2 separate regions of the Homo sapiens genome follow, and region 2 is linked to region 1. The links are contacts of gene promoters, found by promoter capture Hi-C in blood cells and fetal thymus (Javierre and others, 2016). All regions are on one chromosome and are shown on one strand. The core of a region is centred on a gene start or on the middle of the fragment in contact, and the rest is flanking DNA. Distances in the headings are between cores, read along the strand shown.

The links. The method cuts DNA at HindIII sites, captures the fragments that hold promoters and counts their contacts. A CHiCAGO score of 5 or more calls a contact.
Region 2: a fragment that was not itself captured here is called in contact with the fragment with the promoter of ZNF280D in region 1 in 1 of 17 cell types (fetal thymus); the score reaches 7.4 in fetal thymus.

What each region holds. Positions count from the first base shown.
Region 1 is chr15:56,728,380-56,736,292 of GRCh38, forward strand. ZNF280D (zinc finger protein 280D) reads right to left here and starts at 5,130. Exons shown (of 22, transcript NM_017661.4): 1 at 5,079-5,130. RefSeq lists a silencer at 4,880-5,149. The HindIII fragment of the contact is 3,680 bases long and covers 2,262-5,941 here.
Region 2 is chr15:56,609,744-56,617,656 of GRCh38, forward strand. No RefSeq gene overlaps it. Among named protein-coding and RNA genes, the nearest start is that of ZNF280D, 120 kb to the right of the region's middle. The HindIII fragment of the contact is 6,604 bases long and covers 1-6,020 here.

The DNA of each region.
Region 1 (7,913 bases), core at 3,880-6,379:
GAAATAGAAAATATAGACATTTTAAAAAATTCATTGGATTGATCATTCTAGTTAGTTGCTCATAAATCTGAAATTGAAAAATCTTGCAATTGTGGAGCAAAGAAGATGGCCGTCCTGTCTTCAACAAAATTATGAACCATCAAAGGTTTCAAAAATTCTTCCAGTATTGCATTTTGATGATGTACATGCAAAAAGACAACCCAGAAGGAATGACAAGCAAGAACCTATCAGGGAAGCATTTGAAATTTAGAATCAGTATTTATAAGACAAATAGTTCCAGGGTCTTGTATGAAAGTTGCTAAGTACAGACAGTCTCCAACTTAAGATGGTTCAACTTACAACAATTTTCAACTTTATAATGGTGTGAAAGTGCATTCATTACTTCCAGTACTCATACAACCATTCTGTTTTTCACTTTCAGTACAGTACTCAATAAATTACATGAGATACTCAACACTTTATTATTAAAAAATAAGCTTTGAGTTAGATGATGTTGCCCAACTGTAGACTAATATAAATGTTCTGTGCATATTTGAGGTAGGCTAAGCCAAGCTACGATGTTCAGTATGTTAGGTGTATTAAATGCATTTTCAACTCATGATACTTTCAACTAATGACGGGTTTATCAAGGATGTAACCTATCGTAATTCAAGGAGCATCTATAGTTAATTCCATTCAGATGATGTTGCCCATTTCAGGTAGAAATACCTTCAAAAGGTGAAAAACATGAAATGAAAATCTGAGCAACAGGTGACAATGAAATATGATAAGCTTGGACAATGCAGATCTACACAGAGATTGGGAAAAGGCATGAAAGTAGAATCAAGATTGATATATACGAAATGACAGAAAAATTTCAAAATTCTGTCAGACATATAACTTGTGACAAATTTTTTACAAATTTAGACTTGGCTGAATATCACACAGCATCAAACTCTCCTTAGTTGGCACTGTTAGGAAGAACAGCATTGAACTTCTGTGAATTTTCACAAATGGAAAAGCAAAAGAAGTCAACTGCACAAAATCTGGATTTCGAATATAATTCATGATTCTTATTGTCCTAAGGAAAACTATACCTACTCTTCTCAGCTCAGTGCATTCTCAACCATCAATGAATTTTAAAATCCTTGCATAAATTAATCTGAAGTGATCTGTATTACAAAAAGACTACAGAAGTGACACATTCAAAAAGTGGGTCAGAAACAATACTTGGAAGAGAATGATTTGAAGATGGCTTATGACTGATATTAGTTCAGAGTATACTTTCATTGTACGGGAAAAGCTTCAGTTACAAAACTGGAAGTTACCAAGAAGAAATTCCTCATGCAACTAGGAAAATAACTTGCAGAAAATAGGAAGGGAATGTTGTCTTACCCTCTAACCACAATGATTTCTGCACAGATCTGAAAATGGGAAGAAAGAAAGATGTTCTTTGTACAGATACAGAAACTCAAAAAGAAAAAAATGTGTGTTACAATGAGAATGTTTATGCAAAGCGTTCAAATGTGATGTATATTTGTTGTAGGAGTGTTATGTAATTAAATGCATGAAATAGATTTTTTATTTTTTATTTTTCTAAGTACATACAAAGATATCTGCTGTATTGAAATTCTTATTAAAAGCTCCAATAAGTTGTTTTACATTATGCTTTATTTTTACTCCTATAAATTATACATAATAACGTAAAATGCAAAAAAAACCAGTCCCTTTTGACCCAGATGATAGTGATAATTGTACACTTTTCCTCGTATACTGAGGGTTAAGAGAATCCTTAAAATTGCTCTGGAGAAATAAATCAAAATTCTAAACATACAATTTTTGATATAAGGCACTGATTAAATCAAGTCATTATTTAAATCACTATTTAAAGCAATCTGAAAATTCAAAGTTTTTAATTCCTTTCTAAAGCAAGAAAAAAACTATTCAGGATTTATATATTTAATTAGTGAATATGTCGTAAGTATTCCTCATCTTCCAAAACTTGCTTTTGGAATAACAAAGTATGTTGTCAATAGAAATATCCAATTTCCTGTCACCTAAAACTACAGTTGACTTTTCATTTGTGAAAACTGCTATTTCAGTGAGCCAATGCTGATTAATAGAACACTGGAATGAAAAAGGACTGGATTAGTAGCCTAACTGGACAGATGTTCCAGTTGAAGCACTTGCAATCCTCCAACATCAAACTACTTCAGAACTTTTCTATTTACCATAGCTTACTATGGCTAAAATGGTCCTAAGCAAACTTTCAAAGAAGGCAAAGCTTTCTGACATCTACTTTCTGCCTCCTCTCTCCTAGTCTCCCTAGGCTCTGATGCCAACACATAGAAGCATTCCAAGTTCCCTAAAGTAGATGGGTTAGTATTTCCTCCAGAATTGTCTCCACTTCTTCTTCTTCCTAACTTCCAAAGCCATACCTAAACGACTGCTCCCAACTGTGTTTATCAGATTACTGCAGGTAAATTCCTACCAACTACTAATGCCAAAATATCACACCACAAATGACTTGCTAATTGCAGAAGGAAATGCTTACAATGGAAAGATAGCTTGTCACCACCTTATCTAAGAGATCAAATTTAGGATTATTAATAAGACAAGCCTACTTTATGTGCCTTTGGATGTTGTATGCAATGAAGCATACTGCATGGCTTATGAAGTATTCCTGTCAAAAAAATATTAAACCTAAATATATTCAAGCCTTTAGACCCAAATCCAAGTTTAGAGAAAACAGAGAGGATAGGGGGAACAAATTTAAACACTATCAGGAGGAACTATCACTAAAACATGGAATATGGGTTATTCTGAAAGACTACAGACCAGGTCTCTTCAAAAGGTCAATTTCGCCCAGTGCTGTGGCTCACATCTGTAATCCCAGCACTTTGGGAGGCCGAGGCAGGTGGATCACTTGAACCCAGGAGTTTGACACCAGCCTAGGTAACACGGCAAAACCCCATCTCTACAAAAAATACAAAAATTAGCTGAGTGTGGTGGCGTGCTCCTGGGTTCCCAGCTACTCAGGAGGCCGAGGTGGGAGGATGGCTTGAGCCCAGGAAGGAGGTCAAGGATGCAGCGAGCCAAGACTGCTCCACAGCGCTCCATCCTGGGACACAGAGCAAGTACCTATCTCAAAAAAAAAAAAAAAAAAAAAAGACTGAAAAGGAATTTTGAAGAAATGGGGGGAAATGTGAATATATACTACACCACGTTAGATTTTAAGGAATATTCTTCACTTTCTTAAGTGTGATTGCGGTATTGTTACACAGAAAAATGGCCTTGATCTCTTACAAAATACATACTGACACACATACAGCATTTAGGGCTGAACTGTCATATCCGTAATGCACTTTGAAACGTTCAGAAAACAGAATGTGAGATAAGTGGAAAAATGCAAATATGGCAAAAAGGTAGCGTTAAAACTAAGTGTTCAAATGGGCTATTTAACTTTCCAATATTTTCGAAAAAAATAGCAAGTTGCAAAGTTAAGAAATTAACTCGAGAATAAAAATATAAAAGCCAGGCTAGATGGTGCACACCTGTAATCCCAGCTACGGAGGCTGAGGTGAGAGGTCAGCTTGAGCCCAGGAGTCTGAGACCAGCCTGGGCAACATAACAACCGCATTTCAAAAGTAAAGTATAAAAATATCAACGAAAGGGCAACTGAGTAATGTTTCTTAAAATCTTTAAGTGAGCCTCCTTGCCTATTCTCATCTACCTCATTCCCACAAAAATGGTATATACTAGAGTTGAGCACCGGAGAAGGAGTCAGAAGACCTAAGGTTCTATTAATATAATTGGCCTTGGCTCTTCCTAGTCAGTGACCTCATTAAAGTCCTCTCCCTGAGGCTCTGTTTCCTCGCCTGCAAAATGATTCCAGCAACCCAGACCACTTCAAAAGGGGCTAAGAGATACAAATCAGGGGTTATCAATGAAAGGCACAAAAGCAAGACACAATTACAACAGTATTTGTAGTGATGTTAAAACATCAGAGGCACACAGCCCTAACAATGGTATAAGCAAACCAGTGCCTTCCCTGGTTAAGTTTCTGCGTGGAGACAGCTGGAGTTGGCACAGCAGTCCCCCAAAGCAGGACACCTTACAGATGCTAAGAGGCAGCTTTTGTGCTTTAAAACTGTCCTTCTAGCGTTCCATTTTATGTTTCATGGCACTAAAAAAGACAAATTCTGTCCAAACCTGAAAATAAAGCCAAATATTTAAGATGACAGATTTTTTTTTTTTTAACAAATCTTCGCAAACAAAGGCCTTTGGCCAAAGGTCTCCCGTGCTTGCAGAAGCGGGTTCACCTTGACGTTTTTCCTCTCCAGCAGATTTCTCCTTAAAAGCGTTAAAACTTGCGATAAGTTGGGAGGAATTCCTTCCATCGCTGGAGCAGGCTAAAACCTCAGAGTGAGATCATTCTTTCCGTCTCAGTAAGTGAACCTTGCAAAGCTCAGAAAATTTTGTCTCCAACTCCACGTTTCTCCTCAGGGCCCTTCTTCTGTAGACAATAACGGGAATTCTATGGCAGAGGAGGGGAGGTCTCTTTGACAAAAATGAGGGTGCAAACGTGGAACGACCGGTCATCTGGGCAAAATGAGGGGCCCTGTGCCTGCAAATCCCGAATCCCCTTTGGTCTCCTTTCCTACGACTGAAGAGACACGGGGGTGGGCTGTGGTGTGAGGACCATGGGTCTTGGCCAAACATCGGCACAAAATGTACCAAAGGGAGTTGCCTCCAGAGAGAAAAGCCAAAACCAGGCTGGGGACAAACAGGCGCACACGCCTGGGAGAGGAGGTGGCGGAGGAGCAGAAGGCGAAGGCCTGCGCGGCCCAGGCCTGCAGCAGCCGAGGCGGCTGCCGCGTCGCGCCGGGATACCTCCTCCCCCGCCTGGGCCGACGCAAGATGGCGGTCCGGCCGCCGCCGCGCAGCCGGTCTCCTCCCCCGCGCTCTGGGCGCTCCCGACGACCCGCGCCGGCCTCAAGACCCCCAGTCCAGCGCCCCCGGAGTGAGGCGGCGCAGGCCGCGCGGGAGGGCCTCTGCCTGCTGCAGCGCAGGGCGGGCGGGGGCGGGGGGGCGCTTACCGTGAGCGGAGCGGATCGGCCTGACTGGAGCCCTGAGGAGGAGGAGAAAGAGGAGGAGGAAAAGGAGGAGCACGAAAAACTACACTGCGGCGACGGCGGCGGCTCCCATTGCGGAGCTGGCAGCCGAGCCGTGGAAAGGGGGGGGCTCTCGTGCAGCCGGCGCGCTGCCTCATGGGTAGGCTCCGGGTCAGCCTCCCCGTGTCCGAGCTCCCTGTCTTCTCGCCGACGCGGGAGGCGGGCACCGGCATGTGCGCCGCGTCGCGGGCCCTCGAAGACCCACGCGCCCCGCCACGCGCCGGTCCGGGGCGAGGGCCAGGGCCCTGCCTCCATGTGGGTGCGAGCTGCTGGCTGGTGTGGCCGGGAGGCAGCCCCAAAATCCGGACTGCTCGGAATTTGCAGGCGAGGAGCCGTGCGTTCCGGGCCCTCCGCGTGTGTAACGACCCCCAGTCCGTTGGCTTGGAAAGTGAAAAGGTCATGGGATACAGCCGCCGTTCGAAAGAAGCAAGGGGCCTGTGGGTCGAAGACTAAACCAGGAGAGAAAAAGGAATCGTCCGTTTCTTTAAATAACGAGCTGATTTTACCAAGTCTGTTTTAAATGTGTGGTTTTGCTTGCGTTCCCTGTCGAGGTCAAATACGAAGAGACGAATCTGTACATTTAGCGTTTTATTTGGGACACAGGAATTGCAAGTTCAGGTTATTTACACATACAGGGTGGTCTTCAGTATGTCAGAAGAACAAAGAGGAGTTAGGGGGTTTTATTTTTTAAAAAAAGTTATCTATTGTTTTTCTAGAAAGTTCGTTGACATTTAGTAAAGTTTTGGGTAGCTGGTTAGTTCTGACTGGTGAGGGAAGGGGCTTGGTAAAGCTTGCCCTACAGCTGCAGCAGGTTCTTTGAGAAGCTAAAACCTGAAGATAAAACCTGTTTCAGGTTACAGCAGGCGGTTTCAGCAGCCAGGCTTGCTGAGAATTCCATTCTTAGAGCAATGTTATGTGCCCTGAGGGCTTCCCCCAGCACTGGCTTCTCCATTCTTTTAGTTGGCTATGACAAGAGTGACCCAATTAGAATGATTAACTTGCACACTCTAATTCCTAACTCTGCCATCTGCATATTAACCTGTAATAGCATTTTTTAAAGTTTGACAACGAGAAGTATAAGAAATTTACAAGAAGAACACTTGCCAAGATACTGCTTGCGTAAATACTTGCTAAAGGTTGTATTCTGATCTGTAAGGAAAGTTTCCTAAACTGATTGTCTTCTCAAGAGCAATGGCATTACTGGTGCAGCTTGTGAGTGACCAAGACTTGAAATCTTGCCTGTTAGGATCCATAACAGACACCCTGTTCAATCACTGAATCTTGCTAATTCATCTTCCTATTCGAATTCAGTTTCTTCTCTCTCATCTGGCTTTCCCCAGTTTTTCTCAAGTGTTTATCATTACTGTAGTCTCCATATTGATTACTGCCCCCAAATTAATCTTCCCCAAAGACCACCTGGATCACTCCTACAGATCTGGTGTACTTGGAGGTAACCATGACCTATCCTTCTCCCACATGGGCCTGGGATCATCTACCCAGCTTTCCCTTTTCTGCTGGCCCTGAAAAATAAACCTTACAGGAAAAGACAGAAAATAGTCAAAACAGCAAACATGGAAAGTTTAAAAATTCCAAAATCTTGGAACATTCTTAAGACATCGTTTTTCAAATGTCCCTAAAGGTTAGCAAAGCATGCTACAGTGTCAGGTGAAATTACAACAAATTTAAAGATCTCGGTTGGCTTTATTGCAATTCTAGATTCAGGCACCACTTCATTCAGTAAAACAGAATAGGTGTTCCCATGAATGGAGCAGATGTGGTTGGCTTTATAGACAGAAAATGGGCTGAAGAAAGAAGAAACAACAAAAAACAAGTTGGTCTTTTCAAAGTTACTTTCCTTGTAAGGTGGGGCACTGAGACAGAATAATAGAAAGAAAACTGATTGGTTAATACCAGGTTACTCCAGATTAATATTGTAAGAACAACAGCAGCCAGGTGTGGTGGTGTGTACCTGTAGTCCCAGCTACTGAGGAGGCTGAGGCAAGAGGATTCCTTCAGTCCAGGAGTTCAAGGCTGCAATGAGCCATGATCCTGCCACTGCAGTCCAGCCTGAGCAACAGATCAAGACGTTGTCTCAAAAACAAACAAAAACGACTTAAAACAGGGAACTTCATTATCATGGGGATTGAAGGTTTAAACTGGCCTGTTTGGGAAATTAGGCTGTTATCTCTCTCCTGATTTCTCAGAAGGCCACATAACAACTCAGTTTCAGTTTTGTGAGCATGGGTAACTCCATGTTGGTTTTTAGTCTAGTCTGCTGGGGCTTAGTGCAGGAGTTTGGTCCAAAATAATGGCATCCTCATAAAAAGGAATGAAATAATGGCAGTTGCAGCAACCTGGATGTAATTGGAGGCCATTGTTCTAAGTGAAGTAACTCAGGAATGGAAAACCAAACATTGTATGTTCTCGTAAGTGGGAGCTATGTTATAAGGATGCAAAGACATAGTAATGATAGAGTGGACTTTGGGGACTCCGGGGAGAGCGTGAGAGGGGAGTGAGGAATAAAAGACTATACATTGGGTAGAGTGTATACTGCTCGGGTGATGGGTGCTCCATAATCTCAGAAATCACCACTAAAGAACGTATTCATGTAACGAGACACCACCTGTTCTCCAAAAACCTATGAAAATAAAAAGTAAAAATAATAAAATGATGGCATCCTATTATTTTTATTTATAACAGGATGAAAGAGAAGATTGCACTCTGTATTCTAGAGTCTAGTCCTCACTTTGTAGAGACAAA
Region 2 (7,913 bases), core at 1,469-3,968, 120 kb before region 1:
TATATATGTACGATGGAATATCACTCAACCACAAAAAAAGAATGAATTCTGATACATGCTACAACATGAAGTTGAAAAACTTATGCTAAGTGAAATAATTCAGACGTGAAGACAAACACATATTTTATAAGGTATCTAGAATACACAAAGTCATAAAGACAGAAAGGATTAATAGAATTGAAATTACTAGGTACTAGGGGCAGGGGGAATGGGGAGTTATCGCTCAATGGGTAGAGAGTTTCTGTTTGGGATGATGAAAAATTTCTCAAAATAGTGGTGATGGTTGCATAAAACATTGTTTATATACTAAATGCCACTGAATTATACACTAGAAATGTCAAAGTGGTAAATTTTATTTTCTGTATATTTTACCACAATAAAAAGGGGGAGGATAAATAACAGCAAAAAACTCCTCCCATATTTTGCAGAAGATATAAACTTACAGATTCAAGAAGTTCAGTGAATCTCAAACAGGAAAAATCCCAAACAAATCCACAACCAAACACTGTGAGAATTGATTATATGAATTGGAGTTATCATGCCCAATTAAATTAGAGTCAGGAGACCAGGGGAAGAAAAGAAAAGAAAAGCACTCAGGGCACAAGTGCCTGCCCAGGGACTGTCTCCTAAGCCAACTGCCAAAATGATCTGCTACAACCTTAAGACTATTTTTACCTAGTAGCTGCTAAGATGAACTGCCATGACTTTAAGCCTAGTTTTACCTACCCATCATTACTCACCAATCAGAGCTTATGAGCTCCCAAAAACTTTCCTAATGCCAATGAGTTTTCTTACAAAACAATACATAACATTTCTCTAATAAAACCCCCAACCTTTTCTCTGCTCTTTGAAGATACCAAAGACCACCCTGGTCTGTGTACATGCCCTGAATGGTAATTCCGTTTTTCCAAATAAAACATTTTCTTTAGAGTTTCATCTCTATCATTTTATTTGACTTTGATAACACCATAATCAAATTGCTGAAAACTAAAGACAAAGAAAAAATTTGAAGGTAGCCAAAGAAAAACAATGCCTTATCATAGAAAAGAACATTGATTCACATGACTACTGATTTATCACCAGAAACCAGAGAGACTCAGATGAAATGGCACATTTTTTAAAGTGCAGAAACAAACAAAGAAAAAAATCTGTCCACCTAAAATTCTATAGACTATTAAAATTATTTAAGAATTAAGATGAAATAGACATCATTAGAAAAAGGAAAACTAAGATCATTTGTTGTCATCAGATCTGCTCTAAAATAATTATAAAGAAATGTCTTCAGCCAAAAGGAAATAGTACCTGAAGGAAACTTGGTATATTATGCATAAAGGATGAGCAACGAAAATGGTGGCTACCTAAGTAACTATAACAGACTATTCTCCTCTTGAGTTCTTTAAAATATATTTGATGGCTGAAAGCAAAACTCGTAACATTATCTAATGGGCTTTTAATGAATATAAATGTAATATGTATGACAACTATAATGTAAAGCATGGAGGATAAAAGAACATACGTGGGTGAGGTTTCTACATTCCAGTTGAAGTAAAATATTGATTCCAAGTAAAAAGTGAATATGCAAATTGTGCAGCTACTCTGGAAAGCAGCTTGCTGGTTTCTTGTAAGTTAAACATACACTTACCATTTGACCCAGCAATCCTACTCCTGGGTATTTACAACAGAAATTAAGACATATGGTCACACAAAAATATGTACATGAATGTTTATACCAACTCTATTCATAATCAAACAGGAAACAACCATATGTCCTTTAATGGTGAATGAATAAACATATTATTTATAGAATGGATTACTACTCAGTAATAAAAAGGAATGAACTATTGATACATGCAACAACTTGTACAAATCTCATAGACCTTATGCTGAATCAAAGTCTCAAAGTGTTACATAATGTATCAGTCTGTCAGAGGTGTTCGAACCAGGGTGACTCCGTCTTGAGTGAGGGCTGGGAAACTGAGGCTGGGACTTGCTGGGCTGCATTCCTAGAAACTAATGTATTCCTAGCCTCTAGATGTTTACGGTTAAGGGAACAGATGGATAATGTTTACTAAACAGATCCAGACTTGGGAGTGTCCTGATATCCTGCTATCTTGAGAAGAGAAGCATTCCTAGTTTTGCTTTAATGGTAATATCGATTATTGTAAAATACAGTAATTAAGAAAATTAATCCTTTATCACAAACCCTTGTAGCAGAGCACATCTCCCAATGATTTTTTTTATCCTATATATATAGACAAGTATCGTACCTAGGGTGGACGTGTTCCTCCTCTTACTTTCGGGAATGCCCTACTCTGTCTATGGAGTAGCTGTACTTTAATCACTTTACTTTCTTAATAAACTTGCTTTTGCCTTGCACTGTGGATTCGCCCTGAATTCTTTCTTGAATGAGATCCAAGAACCCTCCCTTGGGGTCTGGATCGGGATGCCTTTCCTGTAACAATTTCATTTATGTGATATTCTCAAAAAGAAAAACTATCAGTGGTTGAAATATAGCAAAAACTGAAGACCTGAAAAAAGAAATGAATTCAGAGTAGAAGATTTTAACTCACCTTATCCAGTAATTGATAGAACAAGTAGTCAAACAAAATCAGTTAGGATATAAAAGTTCTGAATAACAAAATTAAGAAAATTGACCTACCAGATATATGTAGAATATTGTACCCAACAACTGCAGAATATATATTTGTTTCAAGTGCATATAAAACATTTACCAAAACTGGCCATATACTCAGCCCTAAAGACAATCTTAATATATGTCAAAGGCTAAAATTATGGAAAGCATATTCTCTGATTTACCACTACACACCCATTAGAATGGACAAAATTAAAGAGACTGACCATACCAAGTGTTAGTGACAATTTGGAAACAACTGCAACTCTCATACAATGCTGCTGAGAATATAACAAAAAGCCCCTTCGGAAAACAGTTTAGCAGTTTCCTAAAGAATTAAAAGCATACTTACCATGCCACCCAGTCATCCTATTCCTATTTACCAAAGGTAAATCGGAGCTTATGTCCATACACAGACTTGCATGCGATGTTCAAAGCAACTTATAATAGCTAAAAACCAGAAACAGTTTGTATTTGTTTTCTGTGCTGCATGACAAATTCCTACAAATTTAGTGGCTTAAAATAGGTATTTCATTTAAATTTATTTTTGAATAGATAATTGGGTAACAGTTCAAAATGTGGTGCACTGGCCGGGCGCCGTGGCTCACGCCTGTAATCCCAACATTTTGGGAGGCCGAGGTGGGCGGATCACCTGAGGTCAGGAGTTCGAGAGAGAGCAGCCTTGGCAACACAGTAAAACCCCATCTCTACTAAAAATACAAAAATTAGCTGGGCATGGTGGCAGGCTTCTGTTATCCTAGCTACTCGGGAGGCTGAGGCAGCAAAATCGTTTGAACCCGGGAGGCGGAGGTTGCAGTGAGCCAAGATCACACCGCTGTACTCCAGCCTGGACAACAGAGCAAGACTCCGTCTCAAAAAACAACAAACAAACAAACAAAAAATACATTGCCCTTTAGCTATATTGGGTAGCAGGAAGGAAACTGAGAAATGAAAAACGTCTATTAAGTCTTTCTTTATATATATGTATGCATCACTTAACTGGTTGTGATTGGTACATATCTAATCCTAGTCAAAAGCCCAGGCTTTTGAGAGTCAGACTACCTATTTGGTTACACGTAACTAATTTCTTATTCACTGTGTATCTCAACTTTCTTATTTATAAACTAAGATACTAACAGTTTCTACTTCATAAGGCTTTTGGGAAGATTACAGCAAATAATCAACGTAAAGTACTTTTAGCTTGGTGCCTGCCATATAGCAAACGGTTAGTAAATGTTAGCTATACAAAATATTCACCTTAAACTCATTTTTAGAAAATAAGAATAATTCAAAAGGAACTAAGCATCCAAATGAAGCAGCTAGAAAAAGGACAACAAAATAAACTGAGAAAAATGTGTGAAGAGGACAATTTAGGTCAAGAGTGCTGTAAATTCAACACTGAACTCTCCCCCTTCTCTACAAATGTGAATTATAGATTCAATTAACAAGAAAAAGACAGTTTCATGCATGCCCAGATACAAAATAAGCATTTATTTGGGTCAGAAACAGAAGGCGGCAACCTAGTAAGGTGGGGCTAAAGCGGCAGCCCTGCCGATGTCTAGGTCCAGGAAGCAGCTAGGGGCCACTGGGAGTTTTTACTCCTTTGATGTAACGAAAGCACTATGTATGTGGCATGGAACCATGGTACAGCTGGGGTCTCTGTGTGAAAACAGCTGTGATCACTGCCTGAGGTTACTGCTTCTGTAAACCTGTATAACTTCATGGTTGGGGGTGGCATAAGAGAAAACTGCACAGAAATCTGAGCAAAGCTACATACTGCTTCAGATGCTGAGCCAGCTGCCACTTTGAGACTGGAGTTTCTAGCCACTGAGGCATAATTTTGGAGTAGAGTCCTAGACAACTAGAGGGGAGAAACCACAGAACTACTAGACAGGGAAGAGGGAGCACAGAAAGAGGCAAAGGAAAAAAAATACCACTTAAAATGAATCTGCAGATGAAAACGCCAAACCACCCAATAAAAATTATTAAGGAGAGACAAGAAAAAAATTCACTGAAAATAACCAAAAATATTTTAAAGTTTTCTTAAATAGGTCTTTAATCTGGAAAGAGAGAGAAAAAAACACTCTGGAGAAAAACTAATTGAAGGCAGAACCCAGAGAGATGACTTCTTCCTTGAGACGTTTGCTGAGCTGGATGAACCTGAGCATGGGTTTTCACAGCCTTGTCAACAGAAGATGGAAAATACAGTTTATATCTACGAGTAGAACTTCACACAATGCTGAAATCACAAGGATCTACCCTTTAGTATAAGGGTGAATTAGAAATACTTACACATTTCCCCAACTGAGGCAGGAGAATAGGGTCTGGAGGCAGGGAACTGAAGGCCATTTCGTGCTGAATCAAGGAAAAACACCAAGATTTGGGGGCACGGAATCTGAGGTCAATTTATGCTAACTTTCTAAAAGAGAAAACACCTGGGTCTGGAGGCAGGGAATCTAAGGCCAATTCAGGCCAACTTCCTAAAGCTAAACCAAAAGGTAAAATTCCATCTCCCTACAACCACCTGAGTAGCAAAGGATCAAAGGCTGCTGTCCCTGCCACCCTCCCCTTCCACCATGTCTCAGATGGAAAGGGAGAGTGCCTTGGATTGGCCTTGGGGCCAAGCAGGGACCATCCCTTCATCTGCACAGGGCACCCATTCACCTCAGCCTTTAGCCACAAACCAAATCCTTCATCCAGATAAGGGGTAACAGTAGGAACCTCAACAGGAGTACTTAAAACCTGGAAAACTTTGTAACGGGGCCCATCGGCCGCTTGTTTGAGCCCACTCCCACACTGTGGAGTGCTTTCTCTAATAAATTCCTGCTTTTGATACTTAATTCCTGTGTTTCATTCTTTTGTTACTTTGTGGGTTTTGTCTAATTCTTTGTTCAAAACGCCAAAAACCTGGACAACTTACACTCAAGGCCCTCCTTCTGCTGACACAACCATTAGGACTAAGAAAAATTATCTGTCTCCAATTTCAGCACGCTGGAGATAGGAAGGATTTCTCCTGATAATCTGTATTCACAATGTGGTCTTCAAGCAGGTTTGCAGCCTAATTTTATATCAGTTTTGTAGTCTCCAAAACCTCCAATAATAACTGTAAAGTAGTAGTGGACTAATAGTGCCTCCAGATCTTCAGATGATTGACACAATCTAATCCTCTTTGGAGGAAACTTTCTTTATTCCAGGCCTCTAAGAATTACCATGTGAGGACAATTAAGACATTAGGACACAATACAAATCACCAAACATTAAGGAAATAAGACCCCACAGGTTAGAACAAACAGAAACCACAGCAGAATCAGACGTGAGAAAAGTTTAGACACTGGAATATTCAGACATAAAATAATTTTGCTTAATATGCTTTAATAAATAAAAGACAAGCTTGAAAATGAGTAAATTACAAGTAGAGTTTAAGAAAAAAAAGAGAATGTCTGCAGTGTAAAATGTAATAACTGAAAATTTTAAAATTTTATGGATACAGTTAACAGCAGATTCAATATAAAGAGAGCATATTAAAACAATTAAGTTATGCAGAATATATCCCAGAGTGAATAAGAAAAAAAACGTTAAGAGTCATAGGGGATACAGTCAAAAAGTCTAACATGAACTTAATCAGTTTTAAAAAGAATGGAGCAGAAGCAATATTTGAATAGATAGTGGGAATGTTCCAAAAAGTCACTATTTCACAGATCCAAAAGCTTTAATAAGTCAAACAGAATAATAAACAGAAATCTATACCTAAACACGTCATTATGCATCTACAGAATACAGAAGACCAAAAGATCTTAAATGTAGCCTGAGAGAAAGAAGCACAATTAGATGGACAGCTATCTTCTTAGTAATCGATATAGAAGTGAGAAGAAAATAAATGGTATTTCAATATGCTGAAAGAAAATTACTGTTCAATGCACAGTTCTATATTCAGAAAATTTCTTTCCATGATGAGGACTTAAAGACATTTTCAAACAAGCAAAGGCTGAAAATCTGCAATCTGAAAACTCCCACTAAAAAACATTATAAAGGATGTACTTCAGGTAGGAGAGTCAACTTAGATAGAAGAAATGAAATTTAAGAGGTGGGGAACAAGAAAATGGTAAATATTATGGTAAATCTGAGAGAACCTGACTGTGATATGCTAATTTTCCTCATGGGAAATTCTTTAGGTCCTGGAATGAAGGCAGGTTCCTCTAAAGAGAATTAGTTCTGTCAAGCATTTGGGGGCACTCTTCATCAAGTAGTTAAAACAAAACAAAGGATTACAGCACAATTGTAGGACAGTTGTAGGGGCTCAACAAACATTTACTGAATGAATGAATGAGTAAATAGATGGATATCACAATTAACTCTACGTGTTCCTAGCAAAGGCTAAAAACTGGCTGCTTGCCAGCCATTTCTGGTTTGCAAACAATTTGTTTGGCCAACAATATATTGACCAAGACAAAGGCAAAACAAAACAGGAGATTTTATACCAAGTACTGGGCTTACATTTCTGGTTGTCAATAGTGGACTGAAACTGACTCACCGCTGCCACCTTAGAAGGGACGTCTACTCCTCCATGGAAGATTGGAATTGAAGTGTTTATACCTCCTTGTTTGGGATGAAGTTAAAAATAATTAACTTTAGACATTAATAAGTTAAGGATACATGGTATAATTTTCTGAAGAGGCAAGCTGAGGCTATTACAAGTTTTTACTTCTCTTATTTAACAGGGGAGAAAACACCCCACATGTGACAAGGAGTACAGTTAGCTTTCTGTATGATAACAGTAGCAACCAACCACTACTGAGTAAAGCCATCATGAAATACTCTCTTTCCTAGGCCTAAAAGAGGCTTATAACTGGTGAACTGTCAACATATTTTTGTTTTGCTCACACATTTCTGGACAACACTTAAAAATCAAAAGATGTAATATCCCATTCTGAGCCTGCATTTTTGATGGGCAGTCTTGGGCTAGAACTGAGTAGCAGAGGCCACCTTTTAGAAAGGAGTATATGGTCTCAAGTGGAATTTAAGTATTTTGGGGTTCCTGTTTGGGAAAAGGGTAAATATGATTAACTATAGACTTTAATAAATTTAGGATACATGGTGTAAATTCCTGGAGAGTACCCACTAAAAGATTAAAATAAAAATTTTAAAAAACAGTATAAAGTACAGATGCTCCTGGACTTATGATGGGGTTGTGTCATAATAGACCCATTGAAAGTTTACAATATCATAATTTGAAAATGCATTTAATATACCTAACCTACCGAACATCATAGCTTAGCTTAGC